Linked DNA regions of Homo sapiens: region 1 is linked to region 2. The links are contacts of gene promoters, found by promoter capture Hi-C in blood cells and fetal thymus (Javierre and others, 2016). All regions are on one chromosome and are shown on one strand. The core of a region is centred on a gene start or on the middle of the fragment in contact, and the rest is flanking DNA. Distances in the headings are between cores, read along the strand shown. Region 1 overlaps WLS (Wnt ligand secretion mediator). Region 2 holds the start of RPE65 (retinoid isomerohydrolase RPE65).

The links. Contacts are between HindIII fragments. The CHiCAGO score rates a contact against its expected background, and 5 or more counts as called.
Region 1: a fragment that was not itself captured here is called in contact with the fragment with the promoter of RPE65 in region 2 in 7 of 17 cell types (total B cells, naive B cells, M0 macrophages and 4 more); the score reaches 14.3 in total B cells.

The regions. Positions count from the first base shown.
Region 1 is chr1:68,129,213-68,133,438 of GRCh38, forward strand. The region is part of intron 11 of WLS (Wnt ligand secretion mediator); the gene reads right to left. All of the region lies in intron 8 of GNG12-AS1 (GNG12, DIRAS3 and WLS antisense RNA 1), which reads left to right. Among named protein-coding and RNA genes, the nearest start is that of MIR1262, 52 kb to the right of the region's middle. The HindIII fragment of the contact is 1,525 bases long and covers 1,248-2,772 here.
Region 2 is chr1:68,448,704-68,452,721 of GRCh38, forward strand. It overlaps RPE65 (retinoid isomerohydrolase RPE65), which reads right to left and starts at 1,251. Exons shown (of 14, transcript NM_000329.3): 1 at 1,192-1,251; 2 at 1-3. The coding sequence starts at 1,202. LOC124904198 (a long non-coding RNA gene) reads left to right here. Exons shown (of 2, transcript XR_007066164.1): 2 at 1-2,820. The HindIII fragment of the contact is 10,150 bases long and covers 1-4,018 here.

The DNA of each region.
Region 1 (4,226 bases), core at 760-3,259, 320 kb before region 2:
TACTCAGTAGGCTCAGGCAGAAGAATGGTTTGAACCCGGAAGGCGGAGGTTGCATTAAGTCAAGATCGTGCCCTTGCACTCCAGCCTGGGTGAGAGAGTGTCTCAAAAACTAAACAAAACAAAAAACTACACATAAAATAATTTGAATAAATTGTTTAGCATATTTACTTTGCTTTTGTATCTGATAAATTTATAGCATATAAATCAGTGCACTGACAGGAGAGCTGTTATAAATTTATGAGTATTGGCCATATGCACTGTTAGGGGTTTAGCATGCCCTGTATTTCCTTGTACGATGTGAAGCTACTGTGGCATAATTAATTTCTCTACTGTGCTGGATGAGGACCCAGATAATGGGACTCCATGCACCAAAATCTATGTTTCACATGTGATTTTATTGTACCTTGAAGGCCAACTGTTCCCCCTTGGGGAATGGGTGTGTGAACGTGGCAGTAACATAGCACGAGTGGAGATCCCTCCACTTGCCTCCTAATTCCATCACCTCCTACTTCTGCCAAGGTCTTGCTCCATCTGTTAGTTTCCCCCTCTCTTGGCTCCTGCTGTTCAGTGCACAAACATGCTCAAAAGTCTCTTCCCATCTCAGACAAGAAAAAACCCTTCTGAAAATGTGATATGTGTCTTGGGGTGAAAAAGAGTGAGAAAGAAAAAAGAAAAGAATGCTTTAGTTTGCAGTAAATTTCTCTCCCTGGTTATGATGTCAAATTCATCACAGCTCATTAACAATTAGATGACGGTCTATTTCTTCCTAACCTTGTGAAATGAGACCAATCTCTGGCACAGATTTCATCCCAAAGGACTACGGCAATGCATCCATATGTGTGGAGTCACATCCACAGGTGTGTAAGCGGCTGCTTGGTTGTAACTGCCTGGAATGCCTAATGAGGATGAAGAAAGCCATATGCACTGGAGACAGCTTCTTAGGACCGGCAGCATTTTAATGACAATTGTTTGTGTATCTGTGCCCACTTCAATAAAAATGACAACAGCTACTCTCATTCTGAGGATGTATTACAGATTCCGGGAGAGATCGGAGGTACCACTAGAGGTCTTCTAATATTAATAAGGCCTACGTACTTCCATCCTCACCACTACCAATGCAAATTAACACCCCACTGCCCAAGTGTGAAAGCCAGGGAGCTCCCATACCATGAGTTCATATTTGTTCTCAAGGTCATACACAATGTGTGCCGGAGCCAAGATTCCAAACCATCTGTGTCTACCTCCAAAGCTTATGTTCTTTCCAGAACATTCATGACCTATCCTTTTTTGTAGAATTTTCCCTAGGCCCACACCAACCTCTCTCCTATTCACCTTCAAAGCTAAGTTCAAATGATAACTTTTTGTAACGAAGTCTCTGGTTCACAGCAGAATGAGAAAAACAGAAAAGTGTAGTATTTTAAAGCCAAATTATTTTCATGCAAAGAACTGCTTAAGAATATGTCTGCCTTACATTTTTGGTGTTAATATGATTGTTATGTTAAAGAACAAAATAGTGTCGCTGGTGCAGTGGCTTACATCTGTAATCCCAGCACTTTGGGAGACAGAGGCAGGAGGACCACTTGAGCCCAGGAGCTGGAGACCAGCCTGGGCAACATAGAAAGATCTTAACCAAAAGAAAAAATAATAATAAAATGGTGAATGGTAGGTTTCTTCTTCTTTTTTTTTTTTTTTTTTTTTTTAGATGGAGTCTTGCTCTGTCACCCAGGCTGGAGTGGAGTGGAGCGATCTCAGCACTGCAACCTCCGCCTCCAGGGTTCAAAGAGATTCTCCTGCCTCAGTTTCCTGAGCAGCTGGGACTACAGGCGCATGCCACCATGCCCAGCTAATTTTGTGTGTGTGTGTGTGTGTGTGTGTTTTTAAGTAGAGACAGGGTTTCACCGCATTAGCCAGGATGGTCTCGATCTCCTGACCTTGTGATCCACCTGCCTTGGACTCCCAAAGTGCTGGGATTACAGGCGTGAGCCACCGCACCTGGCCTTTTTTTTTTTTCCAAAGAAAGTAAATACCCAGGACAGTATGTGGTATATAGTAAGTGCTCAAAACACCCATGAAAGATTTGCCTGGTGCAGGCAAGGGCAGTTCCTCTGTACTCTGCATGGCTGGGTCTAGCCTAGCATATCGGCACTGGTGTTCTTCCCCACTGGCATTTAGGAAAACACCCTCAGTTAGAAAACAAGTGTGCCTTGGGATAGCTCAGCTTTGAGGATCCCTTCTGGGAGATGGGGCAGAGTGGCTTTGGTGGACAGGGTTAAGAGCCCTGGGTCCAGTTGTCTCTCGGTGCCTGTCAACCCCAGAGGTCATTTATTCCAGGCTTGGAGCGAGCCATTGCCCATGGACCTCCAAAGCACCTCCTGACACTTACTGCCAGGCAGTAACTGCAAGTGGGAGAAGAACACAATAGAACTTATTAGTTTGGGGGTAAAATCTTGGTGTTACAGGCTGAATTGTATCTCCCCCAAACTCTCAAATTCATATATTGAAGTTCTAACCCCTAGAACCTCAGAATGTGACTGTGTTTAGAGATAGGGCCTTCTTAAAGAAGTAATTAAGTTAACAATGAGGTCAATTGGGGATGGGCCCTACTCCAACAGACTGGTGTCCTTTGAAAGAAAAGGAGATTAGAATATAGATATACACAAAGGGAAGACCACGTGAAGACACAGGGAGAAAGTATCCATCTACAAGCCAGACAGAGAGGTCTCGGAAGAAACCCACGTTGGTGATACCTTAATATCAGACTGTGAGAAAACAAGCTTCTGTTGTTTAGGACACCCTGTCTGTAGTATTCGTATAGCAACTCTAGCAAACATTTAGGAAGCCGAAGGTTCTTCCCAAGAAGGTAACTGAGATGTCCCTATCATGGTGGGGTGACAAGAATTCTAAGACTCAGAAAAAATGATTTTAATTGACTGGGCCAGGAAAGGTCAGGTCACTGGCACAGCAATAGCCCTGGGAGAGGCAGGGGGCAGAAGACACCTGATTACAAACAGCTGAGCAAGGGGTGCCAGGCTGGTGACGGTCCATCAGTTGGTTCCCACCTTCACTGGGGAATGGGAAAACGCTTTTAAGACCTGCTTTAGGGTCTGGGTCCAGCCCGTGTGACAAGACCAATCCCATCAGTGCTCACAGACATCAAGAAGCTCAGCTGGCCATGGGCAGATCATCTAATGTACAATCAGGGAGATGGCGTCAATAAAAGGGGGCAACCAATGTCAGGGCCTCAGGACTTAATCCAACGCTTTACCGAGGCAACAAAGCCAAAGCCATCTTTCCTATGAAACAAGGGGCAGGAGACCTCAGAAACCTCCAGGAGTAAAACTGACATCACACTGTAGCTAGCTGCCAAGACGCGGAACCAGTGTTGCCGCTTTTGCTCCCCGCAGAGTGGGTGCATTAGACAGAAAATGCTTAGCGTGAACAGAAATAGGAGGGAATGGTGGCAGTGAGGGCATCTTGTGTTCCCTCTGCCACAGTCATCTAGTTGGGAATTCTGTGTCTCACTTCTTTTTTTAAAACATTCTGACAAGAATTTTATAATCAAAAGAACACAAAAATCAAAGCTATTATCAAGAATTGTCTGACTTCATAAGCAGCTCCAACTTCTTATTCCCACCTGAATTGTGGTTGAGTGGGTTTGCACAGTTTTTCATGTGTGCAGGGCTTTGCTGCTGGAGCCCCGGGAGGTGGTATTTTTGCTCTGAGAAGAGGATTCACTTTAGCCTGCTGCAATTCATATCTGCCTGGGAAGACATCCAGAATGATTCACAAATTGGTTATGGCAACAGGTAAAAAGAACAACTGTCATGAAAAGGCAGCAGCAGCAACAGCAACAGCAGCAGCAGCAGCAGCAGGGCAGAAAATATAAGTGTTCCTTGAAGGAAAGGTAACTAAAATATCTTTGCTAAATTTAAAAATCTATATGTGCACGTGTGTGTGTGTACACTCAGACACATATGCATAAAATGATTACACATATAATTCTATGTACATAAAAATAAAATGATTAATGTGAATGAGTTTGCACATTCACTGCCGCTATGGTCCACCAGCCAATAGGAAGGAACCCAGGGGAAGTCCACGAAAGCCTGTGGCTATAAAGAATGTGGCGCCACACTCCCGCAGCACCTATCTGCTGGTGAGAACACTCCAGTGTGGAGTTGTCCTGCCACCTTTCAAGAGGTAGATGAGGAAATCTTGTCCCCCAG
Region 2 (4,018 bases), core at 1-2,500:
ACCCTGAAATGGTGGAAGAATAAGGAAGAAGCCCATGTTGATGCTCAAAGTCCGCAGAGATAGAGGCAGAGCTGCAGGAGAGAAGGCACTCTAGGGCTGGCTCAAAGCCTGTTCACTCCTGCCGGTCTAGTCTCAGCTGGGTGGGGGTGGGGGTGGGGGGAGAAGCGAAGGTGAGGGCGGGAGGAGCACGTGAGGCTGGGGGTGGGGAAGACTACTCAGGTATGGAAGGGGGTCCCAGATCACTGCTCTGATGTCAAGAGACATGACCTCTCTTTTAATGTCAATGGTTACAGTGAACTTAATCCTGTCCTCTGCAGTTTTTCCTTACTTCGGAAGACAAATCAATCAATCCTACTGCCATCAGTTCACTTCCTGAAATTTGTTCCTAAACAGGGTCCTTCCCACAGTATTCTCCCACCCTATCAACATGCTCAGCTCACAGCATCATTGATTTTCTTGCCTCAAGGAGAGACCCATTTATCTCCTTCCTAGGGGTTGAGAGATGACAGCTTTTTGGGTCAGGTACCTCATCTTTCATTATTCACTCATATTATACCATAATTTTTTCCCCATCATCTCATTTCTCTACCAATCCCCAAGACCTACAGTACTTTTTCATCATAGTCAGACCAGGAGATTCAGGTTCTATATTTTTGTTTACTTTCTACATCCTCTGTTCAGTTTCATGTTGTAACTTCAAAGAGTGGAATCTCTGACCAGACTCAATTATAATAATTACCTTTTACTAAACAATTACTATGTCCTACATACCATAAAAAGAACTTTGCATGGTATTATCTCTTTTAAATCTCACAGTAACATAATGGAGTAAAAGCTATTGTGACATCTTTCTATATACAGGAAAAGCTAGACTTAAAAAGTTAGGTAATTTGTCCAAAGTCACACACTAGGAAATGACTGGGCAAGGAGTGGAGCCCAAGTCTGTCTGAAATCCCCATACTCAAGACTGCTTCCAAACCCCGGGCTAAGTCACACAAACCCCCCATAATTTGGACCTGAATTCTAGCTAGTTGCTTTAATACATAAGCAGGAAAAAATTTCCCCACCAAAATTCAAGGGTCTTTCCTAAACAGGTCATTAATCAATGCCTTCTCTTCAGGAGCCCTTGAAATAGCACATTTATCATGAATCCATGAAGGTGTTTTAAAAAAGTCTCCCAGAGATACTTACTGGATAGACATTTTCTTCCAGTTCAGGATCCAGAGTTCTGGCACCAACTGCAGAATGAAGAAGGAAGTTCTCAGCCAGGGGCCTTTTTATGCCTTCTAAATCCCTTAAAAGGAGTTATGGCTTTGGGAGCCCTTCCCCACCCCTTCAGCTGAGGGAGGGGGAACAGAAGTTGCTTTCAGCTCTCAGATCCCCCTGATGCTTGGCTTTATTTGGGCTTGCTGTTCCCATAACAGTTGTTTGGCTGTTTTCCAGAGACCTCAATCCTTCCCAAGGAGAATGAGAACAGATTAGAAAGAAAGGAGCTAGGTGGGAGTGGCCAGCGTCAGGCCTGAGCTGATCCCAGTCACCCCACTGGACCTTGGCACCATTCTCTGGGGCCCACCTCCCCCTAATACCTCTGTGCCTTCATTCTCACCCTCATTCATTAACTCACTTATTTTTAAAAATATCTATTACATACCACCTATGAACCAGACAGAGATGGGTATTGTCCCTGTCCCTGTCTTCACAGATCTTATAACTCTGTAAGAGTTATAGTAAACAAAGTATTCAACCATGTTTGATTAGTGCTAAGATTGGAGAAGTATAAAATGTTATGGAAGCACATTGTGCACCTCTAACCCTCTCTAGCAACCTTATTGATACCATTCAGTGCCAATATTCTTCCAACCAGGTTGAGGACTTTTGATTTGCTGAGAATGAAATTCTGCATATCTTTGCTTGTCACTAATGCCTGTCTGCTCTCTGCCTCACCTTCTTGTCCATTGGTATATGTTTGGCACTCTGAGAGTATACAGCATCAATTCATTCATATCTCCAATACTCTTTCATTAAGTCTCAGTTGCTTGCCAGCACAGACAAGGTACTGCCCAAAGAAGTCCTTGGAAAACAGGCAAGATATATACTATACCAGCTAACAACCTTAACATTTTTTTTGAGAAACTCATTAACAATTTTAAATTTAGTGTGCAGTTATGGCTACTTACCCTAGGGGTCTTCTTCAACAAAACTGTATAACAATTAATCCAAGTGCTTCCCAAGATATACAACAGTAGCTTCATTTCCTTACAGTGAGGGCATAGGCATGTGATGGGCTCCACCCGTTAGGGACAGTGGTAGAAGTCCTAATGGTAGCACCTGGGGCTTAGCATCCATAATATCTCTGCCCATCCAAGGCAGTTGTAGTGTCTCCATTCAACAGTGGAGCCCGGAATATTGTTACTGGCTGGGTAGCCTCCAAGCTCCATCCTTTAGCCATCCCAGAGATTGTTAGCTCTCTAATATTTACAATATTTGCGTTCTGCTTTATTAGAGTTAGTTCCATTATTTGCAGCTAAGAGCCCTATGCCTATAAAATGATGGTAGTATAAGATACTACCATCATATTTTGGGGGGTATAATCACTTTTGTTGGATCTTGGAGAGTAATAGAAGAGGAGATTAATATCTATCTTTCCACATTAAAAGACCTGTTTCCAAAATATTTCAAATAAGAAACTTCTCCTCAAAGTACAAGGATAATCCAAATCTTCTTAAACCAGCAATAAAAGCATAAAATTTTTATTTAGAATTAAAGCAAATACTTCTGTATCACAAACACAATATTAAACTTCAATAAATATACCACTAATTTGGAGTGAGCACTTATTTGCACAATACCATACTTTTTTTTTTGCTATGAGAATGCTTTATTAGGCAAAACCATATACTATGAAAGTGCTTTAAAATGCAACAGGAGGAGATGTGAAGACACAAAGAACAAGTGCCTAGTGACACATGGATATCAGAACACACCAAGTAAAGTATCCACACTGCTTCCACCCTTTACCAAGAAAAGGAAGGATCTAGGCCACCTCCTCCTCGTCACCGTAGGATGCTGTGGTACCACCCAGGAAGAACATTGATACTGGCATTAGGAACCTCCAGGAGAAAAAGGAAGTATCTAAGCTGAGATGGGATAAATATATAAAAGTTAGCCAGTCAAAGGGCAGGTAGAAGAGTGTTCAGGCACAGCTTGTGTTATTTATAAAAGTCTAGAGGCTAACATAAGGTGGGAAAATAGCTAGAGATGAAACTGGACTAGAGATAATCATAGGCCAGATTGTGTAGAACATCATAAACTAGGCCAGGCACAGTGGCTCACGCCTGTAATCCCGGCCCTTTGGGAGGCCGAGGTGGGCAGATCACGAGGTCAGGAGATCGAAACCATCCTGGCTAACACGGTGAAACCCCGTCTCTACTAAAAATACAAAAAATTATCCGGGTGTGGTGGTGGGCACCCGTAGCCCTAGCTACTCGGGAGGCTGAGGCAGGAGAATGGCGTGAACCCAGGAGGCGGAACTTGCAGTGAGCTGAGATCGTGCCACTGCACTTTAGCCTGGGTGACAGAGCGAGACTCCATCTCAAAAAAAAAAAAAAAAAAAAAAGAACATCATAAACCATTTACAGAAATCCAGACCCTTGTCATGAGAAAAGGGGAATCACTGAAATATTTTATCCAGAGGAGTGACATGATCTGATTTGCATTTTAGTAGGACGACTTAGAATGCATTGTGGATAATATACTGGAATAGGAGATTTGGGCAAGACAAATTAAAGGGAGGCACAGATCAAACAAGTGGAGATAGCTGTTGTAAGCAGGTACACTGAGGGATGGATACGAATAGTGAAATTCAAGAGATACTTCAGAGGAGGCCTAATCTAACTCTGGGACTGGTAAATGTGTTGGGGAAATAAAAGGCATAAAAAAGGATTACCGGTGGGTTTCTGGTTTCTGGTACAATTCATTCAGATAATGCACACCGTGTGTGTGTGTGTGTGTGTGTGTG